Linked DNA regions of Homo sapiens: region 2 is linked to region 1. Evidence: promoter capture Hi-C in human tissues and cell types (Jung and others, 2019). All regions are on one chromosome and are shown on one strand. Each heading gives the region's core, a stretch centred on a gene start or on the middle of the fragment in contact. The rest is flanking DNA. Distances are from core to core; before and after follow the strand shown. Region 1 holds the start of EHF (ETS homologous factor). Region 2 overlaps LOC102723568 (a long non-coding RNA gene).

Region 1 (4,020 bases), core at 1,521-4,020:
GACAATCAGCTTTGTTTATCACTCTGTTCATTTTGCTATGTCTTTATCAGCCCCCCAGAGAATTCAGGAGCACAGAACAAGTGCTGGAGGTCTCTCTTGCCAGAGTCCTCCTTGAGAACTTACAATGTGTCCATATTAAGGATCTGCTGTGTTTGATGATTTTGTGATTACACTTTAAACTTCTTATCCATAAAGGACATACTTGATATATCTGAGACTTGTAGTAGAAGGCCTTGAGACATCCATCTCATCCCATCATTATCTATCTATCATCTATCTATCTATCTATCTATCTATCTATCTATCTATCTATCTATCTATCATCTATCTATCTATCGCCAGTACTGTCTTGTTGAAGTTGGCAGTAGGGTGAAAGACCTCAAACTCCAAAGGACTTTCCGTATGGATGCAATATACCTGCAATTCTAGCTTTTTTGTGTTTTTTTTTTTAGGTTGGGGGTGAGGGGTATTGTTTTCATTTTTGTTTTTCTTCTGGAAGGTTCAACTAAGACCCAAGTAAAAAGAAGAATCAATACTTAATAAGTACCCAGCAAGTAGCAGGCACACTTTTAGGTACTTTATTTACAAAAAAACCTCCACAAATAAAGTGGCTTGTGAGTATGAGGTGACATCTTTCCCTCCCCTCCCACCATCACTACCCCAATATGACTCGTCTCAATAGCCCTCCAATCTAAAATGGACTAAATACAAGTGGATAAAGAAATGGAGATTTAACCAGAATTCTTCAGCTATAAATTACAGGGCCTATAATTAAAGGTGATTGGGACTGGGTCAGAGAGCCACATCACTTTTGTGGTTGCATTTGAAGTTCACTATCTCTTGACCACACAACCCTAGCCCTTCTACTCCCACCCTGCTGTCTCAGGTTAATCTCAGGCAATGGTGTAAAGAAGGCCAAGTTTGTTTCCCTGGAGTCCCACGGGCTCTAGCAATAATGCTTCCCTTTTCTCATGAGTGCCCCGCCACCCACCCCCCTTCACCATCACTACACACAAATGCCCTGCAGTGGGTGGAATGTAGTTACTTCAGGTTGTGCCTGATTTGTCTCTCAAGCAAAACTCCAGCAGGCCATTCCCTCAGGGCCCTGCTCTCAGATCTGGAACTGATAGACTAATTGGGGCTAATGTGATAATGGGAAATAATGAAATTTGTTGTTTTTATCAGTGTGTATATGGGGCGGGGTTTACATTTGCATTTTCACAGGGCCCTTGGCAAGTTCACAGGGTTGAACAGTTGGGAAGGGTGGGAATGTCTGGGGCAGGTTAGGGAGGCAGAGGGATTTATTAGAACTCCCCTAAACTGCACTGACCAAAGCCTCAAGCCCTTCTTCAAGACCTGCCCAGCTTCCAAGACCTTCCCAAGTCCACCCTTGTTTTCCCACTGAGTCTTTTACACTTTCAGAAACCTCTGAATTTGTGTAGAAACTAGAAAAAATAAGTAAGAAAAGACTAATACTACTGCACACTCACTGTTCCCCCTTAATATAATAACCAGTTTTTATTCTATTCAGTCAGCCTTTGACCATAAGCAGACCTTTTTTTTTCTTTTTAACACAAGTAACTTCTTGGTTTTGATCACAAAATCTTTATCTCTGCCAAATCTCAACTTCCCTTCCCTCTCCCACAAAAGGGAGGCCCGTTGAGTCAAAGAAATCTGCTTAGACACTTTGCTCATGCCAGGCCAGTGTCCTGGAAGGTTCAACAGAGAAAGTTAATGGTTGGGGGATGGTATTTTTCTTTGCTAGGAGCAGTCATTCACCCGTATGGGAGAAGGTACATTTGTGACCCAGTGAAGCAGGTACAGGTAACTCCCCATATGTCCCTTGGCCCAAGGGAATAGAGGTTGCCTGGGTATTTGAATCCGTAGATCCTCCCTAATATTCCACCTTCTTCTTGTCCAAACTGTGCTTTTTTATTTCCAGTTTCAGCATTTTGGTCTTCTCATCTCTAACTCTTATAGGGAGTGTCAATAAACCTTTTAAAAAAGATCATGTAAGTGTCAAGAGGAAGTGAAGAACCTAGATAATCCACCAACCGGATAATCAGCTCTTGCATATTTGAGAGTTGACTGCTTGACCTAAGCATCTCCTCATAAGGTACCCTCCCTCCCAGGACCTTCCCTTTCAAACCTCTCAAGGCTCTTACCTGGGGCCAGGGGAGATAGGCTTTTCAAAGTCCATTGAATTGCCAAGAGTCTCTGTCAAGAAGGCAGTCATGGTGCCTGGAGAGGGAACTTGCTGGGAGCCCCTTCAGAGCCTGGTACTTATAGAGCTAGGGAAAAGATCTTGATGCCAAAGCAGGGTGGACTAAATACAGACTAATAAATGAGACAGGTGCTCAAGAGGGCCCCTCCATACCATCATCTCCTCCAGATTTGGACTTCTACTCACTTTGCTTTTACATTCCCTCTTCCCGATGGTGTCTTTGGTGAGCAGGGTGCTTTTCACCTGAAACAGCCTCTGAGCTGAAAAGAACAGTCACCACCAAATCAATTCCTCATCCATTAACAGGTTGTCTCTCTGTTCTTGAGACACAGGCATTACCTGGTTAGACCTGTTTTGTTTGAACACTAACGTGTGAGTTGGCCAAATGCAAATGAGCCAGTGTTTGTAATCCTTTATTTTATTTTTTTAAAGGGCTGGGTAGCCAATCAGAAGAGGGGGAAGTGACTTAGGGAATTCCCGGTTGGTGGCTTATTGCTTAACATCCTACAAAATGATTTAAAATTATTGTTATATGCATTTATCTTCACTCTGATGAGGGCTCAGACTTGATAACACCCGTGGTGCCCCATCCCTATAGGAGCTGGTGAGATTGCAGCCTGCTGCCTCCCCTCCAACAGCCACAGCTATTGGATTTCCCACCCAGAATCTTTAGGTAAATGAGGTAAGTCCTGATTTTTAAAACTTCTTTTGAATCTGGAATCCAAACACTTGAGTGGAAAGAGAAGCCTGCTTTAAACTGGACAGATGAAACTAGAACAGACTCTTGGAGACGGCTGGCAGGAAGTGAAGCTCACCTTACCTGGGCTTACCTCACTGGGTCAAATCAGAATTTTATTTTGGAGGGCAGGTTGGCTACTTTGGATATTATCTGTGAATTTCCTGCATTGTCTGGACTTCTAATCTCTGTGAATTTAAAAGCCCCCTCGTTTCCCTATGCCTGGGTGGCAAAACCATTCCCCTGGGTTGAATTCTTCTGGAACAAATAGGCAGCTAGAGATAGGTGGCTCTGATATAGCTCAGAGAAGAAGTGGTTGGCTAAGTAGCTGTTAGGGCTCAGAGTACACGGTCTCGCTTTCTAGAGATGTCTTCTGCTGGTAATTTTTCTGACTTATGAGCTACATGGAAAGGCCAATTTGTTTTTAATATGTTCCAGGACTGGAAAATGGCTAGAAATAGGCAAGAACATACACAATCACACTGGAAAAAGTGGCCAGGCAGCCAAGGCAGGCAGAGGTATTGGGGAGAGCTGAATATCTACAAAAACAAAAATTCAGAAAAAACAAAAATCAATTTTGGCAAAGGGCTTCACTGTATAACAAGGGGACAAGCTAACCCTTTGTTTACAAACTAACCCTTTGTTTACTCCATTTTGTCCAGAAAATACAACAATCAGTTTTGGCAAAGGGCTTCACTGTGTAACAAGGGGACAAACTAACCCTTTGTTTACTCCATTTTGGGAGACTATGATCAGACAGGCAGTTGTGACTCAGCAGCAACAAATGCCTTCTGAGACAGGGATTCTTTTGATTTTGCTTGGACATTGTGGAGAAGTGTTAGCCCCAATGTGGACTGATCTGGGAACAGTGGGAAATTAACTTCTTGTTGGTAAATATCAGGCTGAGGTGAGAAAGCGACATTTTCACCGTCCATCTTTGCTGATTTACCATGCTCCCAGGATGGTGGGAGTGTGTGTTTTTAAGATGGAGAGTGTATGCTTCTGGGTTCAAGTTCACAGGTGTCTCTGCTGGTTATCTGCACTCACCTTGGTAACAGGG
Region 2 (4,020 bases), core at 560-3,059, 170 kb after region 1:
AAGGATTCAGATGGTGCTGCTACACTGCTCCCAGTGGATTTCATACTCTGGGTCCATGAATCCTGCCTTGACTACAATTCAAAGGGGCCTAGTGTAGGGGTTGAGAGTGTGGCCTCTGGAGTCCAGTACCTGAGTTCAAGTCCTGGCTCTTCCACTTAGTGCCTCAGACACAGTCTGACTTCTCTATTCCTATTCCTCACCTGTAAAATGCAGACAAGCGTATTCCTGACTCACAGGTCCTTACAAGGACCAGATGGTTAATATTTGTAAAGTGCTTGAAAGAGTACCTGGCATATAGTAGGGCCTGTGTAACTGGTTTGTTAAATAAATTGACCTGTTTGGGTTGATTTCAGGTATTAATTTCCTGTGGCACAGTTCTGAGACATCTGAGCAGTGCTTGCGATCATGTGTGAGGTACAGATGTTTGCTTTTGGGTGTCAGCATTTGGGGATGACAACACAGCCAGATGGGCATCTTGGAAATTGTGTTCCAAGAAGACCTAGAGTTCCATTGTGTGTGTGTGTGTGTGTGTGTGTGTGTGTGTGTGTGTGTGTGTGTGTGTGTGTGTTTTGAAGTGAAAAGGACAGATAGTAAACAACTAAGACTAATGAACAAGATACTCTCAGATAGTAGTATTATGAAATAAATAAAATGGGGTGATGTGATAGCAAGACACTGTGGTCTTGTTAAAGATGATCCCCCTGGGCTGCCTCTGTCTCATCCCTCCCCAGTCGCACCCAACCCCAGCCTACTCCCTGCCCAAGATGGGGCAGCCAGGGCCAAACAGTCGTACATGTGTAGCCCACATCACCACACTTGATTTGCTTCATTCCCAAGGGTCAAATAGGCCAATTTCCCACATCCTGTGCTTCCCTCTATTTAAAAGCCCTGAATGACTATTCCAGTGACACTCCTTTGAAAAATTTTCCATGAACTTCGGGCTAAAACCTTCCTTTATTTAATTTCACCTTAATTGCATCAATTAGGCTCCTTTCATGTTTGCTCAACAAACTCTTTTGTTTCTTTCACTCAGCTCTGAGCAACAGCTGCCAAGTGGAGTCTTTGTTCTGAGGCCTTTTTTTAATGGTCTTCACACCAATCTTGTTTGTTTTCCTCAGTGGCAGCTCTGAACAAACCTGAGAAGGTGTTGCCATTAAGCCACAGAGGGCAAGCTTAGTTGCCAGCTGCCATTTACCCCTCATCCAGTTCCCGGAATGGAAAATGAGGCCTTTCTTCTCTCATTTTGAAGGGAACATGTTTGGTTTGGTTGTGTTGGGAGAGGTGTCAGAGCCCTCAGATAACTGAATGCTCCTCAGAGTCTCACTTATGACACCCCTTCTCCCATCCCCAGTCTTCAGTCCCTCAAGTCACTTTTGCTCTTTCAAGCTATAGAGATTTCATGGCTACCTCCCTGCCTGTAGTCTTCTCCCACTTCCTCCATTCTCACAGCTGGCAGAGAAAGATCATTCTAAAATGGATCCCATCAGACCACTCACATGCTAAACTCTTCCATGGCTTCTCACAGAATTCAGGGTACCTTGCTCACTCCTTAGCTTGCTGCTCCAAGTTCTTCAGGCTTGACTCTTTAGTTTCAAGTTCCTCAACCCCTGCAACCCACATGAGGAAGCTTTCCTCCAAGATGGCTGCAATCAAATTTCCTCCCTCCTTCTGTAGGCAAGCCATTCCCCTACTAAGGTAAAGGGCTCTTACTCCCCTCCCCTTGGATCTGGGTTGGCTGCAGTGACTTGCTTGATCATAAGAATGCAGGAGTATGTTCTGGAACTTCCAAAGCTAGGTTACAAAAGGCTTCCTAGCTTTTTTTTTTTTTTTTTTTTTTTTTTTGAGATCGAGTGTCACTCTGTCACCCAGACTGGAGTGCAATGGCGTGGTCTTGGCTCACTGCAACCTCTGCCTCCGGGGTTCAAACGATTCTCCTGCCTCAGCTTCCAGAGTAGCTGGGACTACAGGCAGGTGCCACCACACCCGGCTAATTTTTGTATTTTTAGTAGAGATGGGGTTTCAGTATGTTGGCCAGGCTGGTCTTGAACTCCTGACCTCGTGATCTGCCCACCTCAGCCTCCCAAAGTGCTGGGATTACAGGCATGAGCCACCGTGCCCCACTGGCTTTGTAGCTTTTACCTGGGCTTCTTGAAATACTCACTCTAAGATTATTTACTCTGGGGGAAACTAGCTACCCTGAGACTGCCATGTCATGAGAAGCCACATGGAGGAGCCCTGGATAATGAGATAATGAAATATGTAGAGAGGAAGGGAAGCCAAGAAACACCAAGGCACCAGAAATGTCAGTGAAAAAAAATCTTGAAAGTGAATCTTCAGCCCCAGTGGCCGTAGGTAATGCCAAGTAAACGAGAGATGAACCATCCAGCTGAGCATTTCTGCATTACTTACCCACAAAATTACAAACAAAACTAAATGGTTGTTTTGGGGTAGTTTGTTATACAGCAATAGACAACCAGGAAGTCACTTCCTCAGACAATTCTTTCAGACCTTGAAGTCCACCCTAAGCTATCATGCATATTCCCATGCCATCGTCCTTGCACCTGCTACTGTCTCTATCTGAAATTACCTTTCCATTCTCTGCATGGCCAACTCTTGCTTTTTCTTTGGAAACCTAAGTACTACTTTCTTTGGCAAGACTCTTTTTTTAATCTTTTCAGTTTGTGTAGGACAGGTCCCCTCTAACATTCTTTCAACAAATATATATTAAGCTTCTACTATGAGCCAGACACTGAAGCTTCAACAGTGAAGCATATTTCCATGTTGCTCTATGGTTCCCTGTTATATCAAAGACTGCATTCTGTTTGAAATGGCTTCTACCTTTATCTCACAACAAGCTCGCCGAAGGCTGAGGCTGTATGCTTCTCTATGTATATCCTGGGCATCTGGCGTAGTGCTAGTACATAGTAGGTGCTCAATAGATTCCAACTAAATTAACAAATGAGTTGTGATCTTCAGCTGGTGTTTATATGAACACTTGAGTTTAGGTTTGGCTGATTTCTGCCAAGTCCAGCTTCCTGAAGTGGAAGCATTGTCAAAACCCTGAAATGATAGTGGTGGGAATGAAGTCTAATAGCAAACTTTCTGGTTTGGGTACCCTTCAAATGCAAATGCACCAACACTAAGAACCCAGAGTTGGAAACCCTTTAGAATGAGCACTGGGACACACTTGTCCTGAAATGCACAAGAAAATCTTCTACTTTGATGGTGAGAGGGAAGATCAGCAGATGCAGCATTCACATCAGTCTGCACTACATAGGTATATGAACCTCTGAACTTAGTCCCTCTGTCTCTTCTGCCCTGGGGGTAGCAAACATATAGGCAGATGGGAGGAGGCCAAACTCCAAAGGCTTTCTGTTTTGTTTTGAATATACCAAGCAATCTGAGAAAGAGAACTTGCTCTTAAAATGAAAGTAATGTGTGCTTGCTTGGGGCTGGATACAAAAGAAAGATTTATCAATGTTAAAAAACTCCATCTGTTTTTAGGAAGCTGCCTTGTGGTTACCACTTCTTGTGCCTATTATTTCATGCTAAGGAGCCACACAGACCGTGTGGCAGTTTTTTGCCATTATGGCACAGAGAGAGCAAAAGCCCAGAGCCCGGAGAAACAACAAGCAGTTTGTCTATTATCTCAACCAGGGCTGAATTTACCTCCTTCACTCCAGGACCTCTGGCAATGACCAGAGACATTTTCAGATATCATGTTGGGGTAGGGGTGGGGGTGGGGGACTACTGCCTCTAGTGGATAAAAGTCAGGGATACTGCTAAACCTCCTACAATGCACAGGACTGCCCCCATTACAAAGAATCATCCAGCTCAACGTGTTAGTAGGGCCAAGATTGAGAAACCCTGGCTTAAGGCACTGGTTTCAAGCTTCAGTGTACATCAGAATCACTTAGAAGGCTTTTTAAGACACAGGTTGCTGGTTTGGGAGCCATGGAGTAGGGCACAGGAATTTGCATTTTTAACAAATTCTCAGGTGATTCGGATGCCGCTCCTGGG

The links. Contacts are between HindIII fragments. The study calls those that stand out against the background at their distance.
Region 2: a contact is called between a fragment that was not itself captured here and the fragment with the promoter of EHF in region 1, in 3 of the 25 tissues and cell types used here (IMR-90 fibroblasts, pancreas and thymus).

Annotation. Positions count from the first base shown.
Region 1 is chr11:34,618,323-34,622,342 of GRCh38, forward strand. EHF (ETS homologous factor) reads left to right here and starts at 2,771. Exons shown (of 9, transcript NM_012153.6): 1 at 2,771-2,906. RefSeq lists a cis regulatory region at 672-1,071. The HindIII fragment of the contact is 9,385 bases long and covers 1-4,020 here.
Region 2 is chr11:34,788,531-34,792,550 of GRCh38, forward strand. All of the region lies in intron 6 of LOC102723568 (a long non-coding RNA gene), which reads left to right. Among named protein-coding and RNA genes, the nearest start is that of APIP, 130 kb to the right of the region's middle. The HindIII fragment of the contact is 3,027 bases long and covers 297-3,323 here.